2 separate regions of the Homo sapiens genome follow, and region 1 is linked to region 2. The links are contacts of gene promoters, found by promoter capture Hi-C in blood cells and fetal thymus (Javierre and others, 2016). All regions are on one chromosome and are shown on one strand. The core of a region is centred on a gene start or on the middle of the fragment in contact, and the rest is flanking DNA. Distances in the headings are between cores, read along the strand shown.

The links. The method cuts DNA at HindIII sites, captures the fragments that hold promoters and counts their contacts. A CHiCAGO score of 5 or more calls a contact.
Region 1: a fragment that was not itself captured here is called in contact with the fragment with the promoter of STAT1 in region 2 in 1 of 17 cell types (neutrophils); the score reaches 5.1 in neutrophils.

Annotation. Positions count from the first base shown.
Region 1 is chr2:191,683,404-191,689,274 of GRCh38, forward strand. It overlaps NABP1 (nucleic acid binding protein 1), which reads left to right. Exons shown (of 6, transcript NM_001031716.5): 4 at 326-401; 5 at 827-893; 6 at 2,196-3,540. The coding sequence ends at 2,365. It overlaps LOC124900605 (a long non-coding RNA gene), which reads left to right and starts at 3,883. Exons shown (of 3, transcript XR_007088697.1): 1 at 3,883-5,871. The HindIII fragment of the contact is 6,591 bases long and covers 1-4,820 here.
Region 2 is chr2:191,012,381-191,017,594 of GRCh38, forward strand. It overlaps STAT1 (signal transducer and activator of transcription 1), which reads right to left and starts at 1,791. Exons shown (of 25, transcript NM_007315.4): 1 at 1,638-1,791; 2 at 1,145-1,298. RefSeq lists enhancers at 1-32, 1,144-1,463, 2,074-2,273, 2,304-2,383, 3,162-3,211 and silencers at 1,554-1,753, 1,784-2,023. The HindIII fragment of the contact is 15,587 bases long and covers 533-5,214 here.

The sequences.
Region 1 (5,871 bases), core at 275-2,774, 670 kb after region 2:
ATGTTATTTTTCCTTTGATCAGCTTTTGTGGAAAAACAGGACAGAGATGTTTTTGTGTCCTTGATTTTTGATGTGATTTTTTTTTCAGCACTAAAGAAGAATTTAAATACAAAATAGAATGTTATATATCTTGTAGACAGTCAAATATTTGATGTTTTATGGGACATAATCATTTGGGAAGTTTTTGTTGTAAATGAAGAGTTAGTTTGTTGCTATTAATTTGTTTGACACATAAGTTCATTCCTAAAAGTTAGAGATGTTACATAAAGAAGGGTTGAGGACTTTATTTCAGAAGTCATTTAATTTTTTCTTTATTTTCTTTCAGATTTTGTATGGTTTATTCAGAAGTGCCAAATTTCAGTGAACCCAACCCAGATTATCGAGGACAGCAGAACAAAGGGGTAATTGTGTAGTATACTTTTATGATTAGGCTAATTTTGACTGTGTTATAATTCTATGATTAGGCTAGCCCTGTTGATACTTAGTATAAAGAAGATAATTTTTAAAAGGATACTTAATTTTTATTGTATGTTTTGTGAGGATATGTATCTGAGGTGTCATCTACTAGATATATGTGCCATTTTGCACTTTGTGGTGTGCTGAGTAATTATCAGGAAATAGGATGTAACAGAGCTCTGAAAGGTTTGGGAAACGTTTCTTAACATTATAACCTTTAATGACCTAGGAAAAATCTTTAAAAAATTTGTTAATTAAAAAAAAAAAAAAAGCCAAACCCAAAACTTTAAAAAAGAAAGGATATAATAATGTTGTAATAATATAATTGTGTTTTTATTCTCGTTTGGTTAAATTAAAAACTTTTTTTTAGGCACAGAGTGAACAGAAGAATAATTCCATGAATAGTAATATGGGTACAGGTACATTTGGACCAGTGGGTAAGATTTTGTTTGTGTGTTTCATTTGTGATCAGGTATAAGAATGAAGAGAGCTGTAAAGATTCACGTGAAAAGCAACGTCTTTAGGCATAAATTAGTGATAAAGGTGAACTACCAGTAAACAGGGAATCCCCAAAGGGCTGATTTTCTAGAAAGTTGATAAACTTAAGCCAGTTTATTGAGAATTCTAAGTTTTTGTGATGTCCGTGAAGAGATACCATGCTATTTTTTTTTTATTGATTCCTATAAAATTTCTATAATCTAGTGATTACTTATAGTAGATGCAGAATTACTGGTTATTTTGGTGCACTGAAAGCGTTTTATCTTTAGAGTCATAGTTCACCTTAATTTTTCACATACAAGTAGCTGCTGCTTTAAAAGATGAGCTGAGCCGTTTAAAGGCTAGTGACCCTCAGATGTCATTTAACATGACCCCCAGACATCATGTTCATGATCCTTGTAGCTCTGTTAAAGGTCTTCTGAAGTCTTTTTTCTTAAATATATGAGGAAAAGTCAGTCTTTTGTGATTAGAGTTCATTAGGATGGCTCATGTTTTGGTTTTGTTTTGTTTTTGAGACAGGGTCTTACGCTGTTGCCCAGACTGGAGTGCAGTGGCGTGATCTTGGCTCATCGCAACCTCCACCTCGCAGGCTCAAGTGATTCTCCTGCCTCAGCCTCCCAAGTAGCTGGGATTACAGATGTGCACCACTACCACCCAGCTAATTTTTATATTTTTAATAGAGATGGGATTTCACCATATGGGCCAGGCTAGTCTCGAACTCCTGACCTCAAATGATCCACCTGCCTCGGCGTCCTAAAGTGCTGGGATTACATACAGGCGTGAGCCACTGAACCTGGCCAGCTCATGTTTTATTTGACTCGAAGGCTACATGTCTTGGCATTGCTGATCACATTGTGGGAAACGCTGCCTTTGCCTTTAAAAAGTTAGAATAACATTGTCTGTTTTGAGATATTAATCATATTTGAGCCAAATTCCAATATTCACTATTTTGCCCTTTCTTTTTCTTTTATAGTGTAGGCAATGCATTTTTTTACTCTATTAATTTCTAATTTTGATGCCCAAGTTGGCTTTTTTCTCTCTATTAATACAGCATCAAGTTAGCATATTTATAGCAATACATTTGGAAAAACTTAGAGCCCACATTGTTTTTTTTTTCTGTATAAAAATAAAAGTGTGTGCTTTAATATTTTTAAGCATTAATAACATGTTGGCACTTAAGATAGTTCTACTTCTATAGACTACCTCTGAAAATAGTGATGAATTTTTGTATTCTTTTTTAGGAAATGGTGTTCACACTGGCCCTGAATCAAGGGAACACCAGTTTTCACATGCTGGCAGAAGCAATGGCCGGGGACTTATAAATCCACAACTACAAGGAACAGCTAGTAATCAAACAGTGATGACCACAATAAGTAATGGCAGGGACCCTCGGAGAGCCTTTAAAAGATGACCTATGCTAAATACTCATGTGTAGTTTTTATACTACATGCCCTACTTGAACACTTATTGCACTTTTATTTATTGTTAACTGTGAAAAGTACGTCCTTTATTGGGTTTCCTTTTATATTCTTGGTTTGTTAAGAAGAATGGTTTGTTTTTATAGCAAAACTGTTAAGCTGCTCGAGTCTCCTGTTGAAGAATGGGAACACTGAAAAGTAGGGGCATTTATTTTTAGAGTAAAAAGATTATTGGATAGCCTTTAAAAAACCTGCACCCATTTCATGGGTGAGTTACTTAAGACATCAGCTTTATAGCCTCTATGAGTCTATCTTCTGTATAAGTTTTGTAATATTTAACATAAGGCTTAATGGGAGATGTTCTTTTGTCTTGTATTCAGATATTGCCAACTAAAGCAATAACCATCAAAAAACACAAGAACTTGTCAATGCTAGCAGTAATTTTTGAGTGTTTGTGGCTCTCGGAATGATTGACTTCGTTCAGTGACTACTATTAAGATTTTCCAAGGACTGACTCATCCCAAATTTTTGTTGTATTACCAAAAAAACAGATTCCTTATCAGAATTTGGAATAGAATGTGATCTCTATTGCAACAAGTAATTTTAAAAGAAAGCTACATTTATTTTAGAGTAGTGCTCCTAACATGTATTATCAACTTTGTGGATTACATTGGAGGAAAATTTAAAACTGGGGCCTTGAATATTTATTTTTTGAAACTACCATGTTAAATACTGAAGTATAATTTGGGGGAGTTATAAAGTTATGATAAACATTCATCTGATTATTTTAAACAATAGTTGTGGTAGATAAACATACTGGAGGTGAGTCAAATTGAATTCATATAGTAACATGCAGTCTGAAGTCCTAGTTACTTAATAGGTACTCAGCCTGGAGTGAAAATCCTGGGTACTGACTTTGAGAGGAGTGAGTGTGCATGTTGTCAAAGTTTCTGAACACAGTTCACATAGCCTTATTAGCAAAAGTTTTAAGAAATGGCTCTATCAAAGAAGCAATTGCAGCTTTATTCAGAAATATAAAAGTGGAATTTATGTACATGTCATAAGTGGTACCCACTTCCCCTTTTTACTGTAGGGTGGATAACTCTTAGGATTTAACTCTTTGAATATTATCTCTTGAATAAAGCATGTGTTAATGTTAACAAACCTACGTAATTTTTGCCCTTTCAATGACTTACAGTGGAGAGCCAGTACATCTTAACTACTGTTGTAGTGATGGTATCAACCTCATGGTTACTTAGCTCTGCATTTGTTGCTTTGTTTTTTTTCCACTTCAAATCACAAAATAAGTAGATTTTGTTTTCTGAAAACTCCATAGCATTTGAATACAAAAAGTTGTGCCAGATTGTTTGCCCTAATTCACTGTGTTTAACAAATATTTCAGTACACACTATGTATTAGGCACTGTGTGGAAAGTGTTAAGGGGTAGACAAAATACCGAATAATCTCCACAAGTTTATTTGTGGTCTATAGTACTTTTGTAACTGGGGTTACAAAAATTATAGAAATTTTTTTCCTTTGTTCATATGCATATTCATGATTATAATTTGGCTTTGTTTGTGATTAATGTTTTCTTAAGATTTTCACATTATAGAATACCTCAAAAGAAGTTGTCTAAGGACTGGGATAGAGAGTATGTTTCATAAAATTGTAGATGTTTAGAATTTTTAAAAACCCTACAAATTAGTATATGATTGTTTTATATAAGTAAGATAGGAGCAACACTTTAAATTATTTGTGGGAGAATACAGCATTAAAGGTGATTTTAAAAGAAAAAAATTTGGAATTTTAGAAAATTTAAATGCTGTCAGGTATGGAATGCTGGGCTTCCAATCCTGGCCTCATTGTCTCCTCACCTGTGATGTTGGATGAGTTATTACACTTGAAATGTCTTTAAGCCTTAGGTTCCACAAGTATGAAAACAAGTAAGTAACAGTATCCTTTCTAGACTTGTTTAAGATTTCCATGTAAGTAATTATAATGACTTCTGACACATAATAATGTCGTCTTATACCCCAACAGTAGGAAAAAAATGCAGAATTCAGTATGAAAGTATTGTTACCCTTTAACACAGTGGTCCCCAACCTTTTTGGCACCAGAGACCAGTCTCCTGGAAGACAGTTTTTCCGTGGGATCGGGGGATGGTTTTGGGATGAAACTGTTCCACCTCAGGTCATCAGTCATTAGTTAGATTCTCATAAGGAGCGTGCAACCTCAATCCCTTGCATACTCATTTCACAATAGGGTTCATGCTCCTATGAGAATCTAATGCCACCACTCATCTGACAGGAGGTGGAGCTCAGGCAGTAAGTCTCCCTCGCCCGCCACTCACCTGCTGGGCGTTCCTGTTCCTAGCAGGCCAGAATTGATACTGATCTAGGGGTTGGGGACCCCTGCTTAACATGTTGAGATTAAATGGAGAAAGACTTAAGCTTTTACTTTTGTGATTGACACTTGCTTCAATAATGTAACCTTGTTCTGTGTTTTTATCATTTATTAACAAATTTCTTTTTTCTTAAGGGAAGCCTCCAAAATCAAAGAAAAGTGAGTTACAATCCATAATGAATATTTGCCTTACCAGCCTACTGGAACACATTCATCAAGAACTTAAGAGGAAGAAAGTTTTCTGCCTTCCTCCTTCCTAGTGCTCTCAGCTATCAACTTTGAAATAAGTTTAAACAACACCTACTGAAAACAAAAACCACTTAGTATAAAAATATCCCCCACCAGAATTGGGTCCCCCATATCATTTCTACAAAACAGTTCTGGAGTGGATCAAAGTCTCATCAGATCAGCTTGCCCCTTCTTGTTTGGGCAGGTTCTAGGAGAAGCTGCTGTAATACAAAAACTGAAAGATGAAATCGTAAAGCTAGATAATGATAATGATATTTAGTGGGGAAGGCTACAGTATGTTTTCCCATAGGCATTTAAACACTCACTTTTTCCAACGCTTTATACTTTGTCCCTATAGCCTTTGTAATTTTAACTTTGATGACAGTTTAACTTAGGATAACCTGAATATGGGTATTACTGTTAGTCATTTGTATTTTTATCATTTAACATTTTAAATGAATGTTTAATTTGCTGGGTTGAGTAATGCCAAGGGAATGATGCTAAAAACAAATAGATGTGAGGTTAGTAAAAGATTAAAGTTACAATTTATGATACGAGAACTTCTTAACTATAGGAAAGTAGGTAAATGACCCTAAAAGGTTTTCTCAGAAGGTAAAAGTTTTACATCAGTCTGAAGACATATAACTCTAACATTTCAGTTTAGTTACTGAAATGACTTTTTCTGGTGTCATTGAGATACTGGCTGTTTGTTCCAAGCCATTTTAGGCTGAGAATGACTCTTAAGGTCTTCTAATGCATTTCAGAGGGTTCTAGAAACAACAAACTGAACATGATATGAAACTAACAACATAGAATGCCCCCCAAACAAATTCCTCTAACCTCACTGAGTTTACTTGCCCTATTACTA
Region 2 (5,214 bases), core at 541-3,040:
ACTCCAGCCTGGGAGACAGAGAGAGACTCTGTCTCTAAAAAAAAAAAACAATGAATAAATAAGCTCATGTTCACAAATCTGGAGTCAGTCTCATCTACTCACAAAACCTGTTACCAACTCAGGGAGTGGCATGGCCATCTCCCAGTCACTGAGCTCAAATCTCAGATTTAGGGTTGATTCCTTCCACTCCATCCCAAGACCTGCTCCTTCCTGTCTCCAACATTCTACCTTCCCAGTCCAGCCTCTGCTGCCCACAGATTGGACCACATCAATCTCCTGTGCAAAAATCCTATGATCTGTCCATTCCTAGGCAGATTTCCACCCCACCCCATCTTCATCCATCAACAAAGCAACCCAGTCACCAAATCATTTACTGTTTTTCAACTGTGCCCAACATTTCTGCTTTGCTCCAGCTACTCGCCCTTGGAAACAGCCTCTCCACAAATTTTTGCGTCTCTAAATCCTATAGCATTCAAAGCTATGTACAAAAGCCCCTTCTTTCATAAAGTTGTCTGAGACTTACTCACAATTAAGCTTTCTTTGACTTGCGTCTCACTGAATTCTGTACCTCTATTAGAGCATCGGTTCCAGTTTTCCTTGTAAAGCTCTGTGATGCCTCCAGAGTCCCCGGCGGGGGAAGGTGGGTGGGGAGGGGGTAGAGTAGTGGGGTATTTTGCTTTTTAACATCTTATGGACCTTGGACAGTGCCCTGCATATACTATGTGCTCGAAACAGTTTGTTGAATTGAAATTATGTATATTTCAGACGGAATTAGAAAGTAAAAAGCAAACCATATTATGATCTCACAAGTGTGAGTCCAGCATCCTCATTAAGCAATGGTTGCACAATGGACTGTGCTGGAGGCTCAAGTCCTGTTTCTGTTCTATGAAAATAACTCCTTATCTATACAAACAACATTCAAAGCACAATCAACCACACCTCTGCATACCTACCACAGAACTCTTCAGTACCGGCCAGAAATTTTTTTAAGACTATATTATTTTGGGGTGGGGGGTCTGCAAAAACTAAACATCACTTTTAAACTCTAGGAAGACATTAAGCCCTTCCATCTTTGAACATAGAAACATAATTAAGATTCCGAAGTCATGTACTCATTCATCTGATTCCATGAACATTTACTGACCTGCCACCTTGTGCCCCAACAAGGGCCTGGGGATTCAACCAAAGGAGCAGCTACGCACAGCACGTTAGGTGCCAAGACTGTCGAGGTTATATACACAGAGTGCGAACGTTAACCTAGACAGCTCTCGAGGATGGCATACAGCAAATGAAACTTTCTGCGAAAAGAAGAAAACGTGACTGATGGAAAGGGGTGGAAACGGGAGAAAGTGACGGTAAATGGGAAGGTGCAGTGCCTTCTAGAGGAAAATTATATTTCACAAGTCCTCTTCACTGCCAGAGCACGACTGGCAAGGACAATCGTGCTGAGCAGTGCCATCTCCGAGAACAGGTGGCACTGCTCGCACTTGGAATACTCAGGACGCGTTCTTCCTCTGGGATCACTATTCGCGGGTCAGCACAGACGGCCCGTCCTCGCCCGGCGTCCAACTGCACGGCCCGAGGACTCTGTCCCTGCGCGTCCCACCCCCGGCACCCGGAACCTCACGGCCACTCACTCTGCGCGCAGGATCCGGAAGGGCTAGGCGGGGGCGCGGCGGTGCAGCCTCTCCCGAGCGCGCTGGGTCGCCTCTGCTCGGTCTGGGGTCTGCCAGGCGCGATCCCCCCGGTGCAGCCGAGCCCCTCCGCAGACTCTGCGCAGGAAAGCGAAACTACCCGGCAGGAGAAAAGGCAGCGCTGGCGCCCGGCCCCCTTCCGCCCCCACCAATCACCGGGCGGCTCCGCGCTCAGCCAATTAGACGCGGCTGTTCCGTGGGCGCCACCGCCTCCCTCTGCGGGCCGCTGCTCCGCCCACGCGCTGGGGTATTTCCGCCGGCTTCCGGCGGGGGCCGCCGGCTGGGTGAGCTGCAGCCCAGTCCCGTGTTGCCACGCTGGGAACTGGCGTTCTGTTTACATATCTTAGAGAACGATCAGAAGGACGTGCTGTGTTTGCAGAAGCCCAAACTTGGAGGTCTCTGTAGTAGTTTCATCGCCGAGAATCCAGGCAGAGGACAGATTTGGCGACGTCGTCATTCTAGAAGCTCCCTTTAGCAACTGACCTCCGTGTTGCTAAACCCAGGGAACGCTTTTCTGTTTTTCTCACTTTACTTGACAGCTCGGAAGCATGGGGCAGAGTTGACGCCTTTGTTCTTGAAACACGTTTCTTCCTTGGTCATGATGATAACACATCCTTCTTGCTTTTTCCTGCCTCTGGCATTCTTTCTACATTGCCTCCACCTCCACTATCAAACCATTATATGTTAAGGTTGTCAGGGTCCAGACATTCGTCAGCTTCTTTACCTGGGCTTCTCCTAAACGCTGTGCTGTGATGACCTCACCCACAGCTTCAGTTTCCTTCTAGATGGAGGAGTCTTAAATGCTTATCCCGTCCACACCTCTCCTCTGGGCTTCACACCTACAACTCCCACTTGCCTCTCCACTTGTATGTGCAGTGAGCTCTACAAACTATGTTCAGAACCAAACATCTTTCTCCTCAAACCTGCTCTTTTTCTAGAAATGGCACATGACAGATACCTAGGATTCATAGTTGACATTGCCTTCTCCCTCACCTCGCAACACCTGATCCTCAAATCTTAATTGATTCTTCCTCCTAAATATTTCCCAAGTCTCATTTACTCTGCTCCATCTCTTCTGCTGCCTCCTTCTGCAGTAGATTCCCGAATGGCTGCCTCACTTCAGCCCTTATCTACCTTTTAATCCATTCTCCATACAAGAGTTTGAGTGTTTTTTTTTTTAATTGAAAAGCAGATCATGTCATTTGCCAACCTGAAAATCCTTCCATGGCTTTTCTTTGCTCTTATAAAATTCAGTTTCTTAATACATACTATAAAGCCCTGGTTGCCCGATCTCTTTGTCCAACCCCATAATGTGCCACTCTGCTTTGCTTACTTCAGCATTTAGTTCTTCAAATAAACCACACTCTCCAAACTCAGGGACTTCTCACCCTGAGTTTGGAAAACCCCTTGAGCCAACATCTGCTTCACCCAACTCTTCGCTGGCTAACTCATCTTTTAGATCTTAGTTTAAAAATCTCAGCTTAAATGTCACTTCTCCAGGTAGGCATTGCTGAAGCCAGACAAACTAAATCTTTTTGGACTATATGCTCATAAAATCAATTAGTTCCTTCAAGTAGACGGGATTTGAGTCAAGCCTTGAATAATTAGGCACTTTGGGGTAGGAGAAGGATCTGAATAATTTCCCATGGATATGCCTATATGTGTGTGTATGAGTTTTTTTTCTTTGCACATCTATTTGTTCTTCTTGTCACAAATGCACCCTCACAAAGCAAGTTAGCAGTGAAATTAGACTTCTCTGCCAAGAGATGCCACGGCACCAAAAGTGTCCCTTCTGCTCTTACTCACCCAAGAACCAAGACAATGTTTTACTGTTCTCTGAAAAAAGCTGTATTAATCCATTTTTAACGCTGCTAATAAAGACCTGAGACTGGGCAATTTACAAAATAAAGAGGTTTAATGGACTTACAGTTCCACATGGCTGGGGAGGCCTCACAATCATGGCGGGAGGCAAGGAGGAACAAGTCACATCTTTCATTGATGGCGGCAGGCAAAGAGCTTGTGCAGGGAAACTCCCATTTTTAAAATGATCGGATCCTCGAGACTCATTCACTATCACAAAAACAGCGCAGGAAAGTCTCGCCCCCATAATTTAATCACCTCCCACCAGTTTCCTCCCATGACAGGTGGGAATTGTGGGAGTTATCATTCAAGATGAGATTTGGGTGGGGACACAGCCAAACTATATCAAAAGTTGACTCTAGGAAGGGTAGATTACATGTTAAAAATTTTTTTTCTGGTACTATAAAACTTGCACAGATATTAGCTTCAATATTGATGAAGGAATGGAATAATCCTAACATCTGCAAATAGGATTATTTGGCACTCCAAATCCCAATTTGGATCATCAAGATCTGTGGATGCTTCCTTCCCTACCCCCCTTTATTTTAGCATCCACAGCAATACCTACCATAAGCCTTCATCACTTGAGAATTGGAATGCTATGCTAATCTCTAGGTATACTACCTTTTTCTTGTCTCTTTCTCCTTCACTATATTTGCCAAATTCAATTCCTTAAAATACTGCATTGATATAGTCATTCCCTGCTCAAAAGCCTTAACAACTCTCCTTGCACATATGATAAACACAAATGTTGTCTGCTAGTCTGGATCCTCCACAAAATGTTTCTTTCCTTCTTTCCAGCCTTTTCTATCATTGTCGCATTTCCCAACTAACCTCGTCTAGCTCCAGCACTCCCCCCATGCTTTTAATTTCCTGATTTCTGCCCCTTTGTACATACTGAATGGCAAGTCTTGCTCCTCACTCTCTTCACTTACCAAATTCTTATTCACCTGTTAAAGCCCAGCCCAAATACTATATTCTCTTTCTAGAACCACCTCAACCTGTAGCAATTAATCTGGGGTCTCTGAATGACCAAATAATATATGTGTCTCTATTTATTTGGACAATAACTATACACTCTCTAATATTATGGTTTTTGAAGTGTCCAATCCTTATGCCTCCAAGATTCAATATTCCTGAAGGATAAACTATTTATATTTTCTTACTGTATAACATATTGACTGCTTCAAAAAGCAATCAAACCAAAGCCAAACAAAAACCTAGAAATCCAGAATTTGACAGATACAAATGTGTGACGGTTGCCTTATAACAGTCAGCTTGGAAAGCTATATCTATATATCAACAATGTCAGATTTGCAAAAGACACAAAACTAGAAAAAACAGCTAACACTATGTCTGTAGATTGTACTATTTTCAAATCTCTTCTGTCCCTTCCCACTGCTTGCCATGGTTCACTAAGGGTGGAGTATACCTCTCTGTGTGCTGTAACTCTGACCTTGGCTATGTGACTTGTTCTGGATAAAGGAATATGAACAGTTGTGATGTATATACCATCTGTCCTGAAACTGCGTGTTCTTTGTAATCAACTTGTTCTTGTGTGCTCCTTCCCTCTGCTAGGAGACAGCATGCCTCAGGTTCCCACGCTAAATCAAAATTCTAAATAATCTAAATATTCTAACGGACTGCTGCTGGTCTGAAA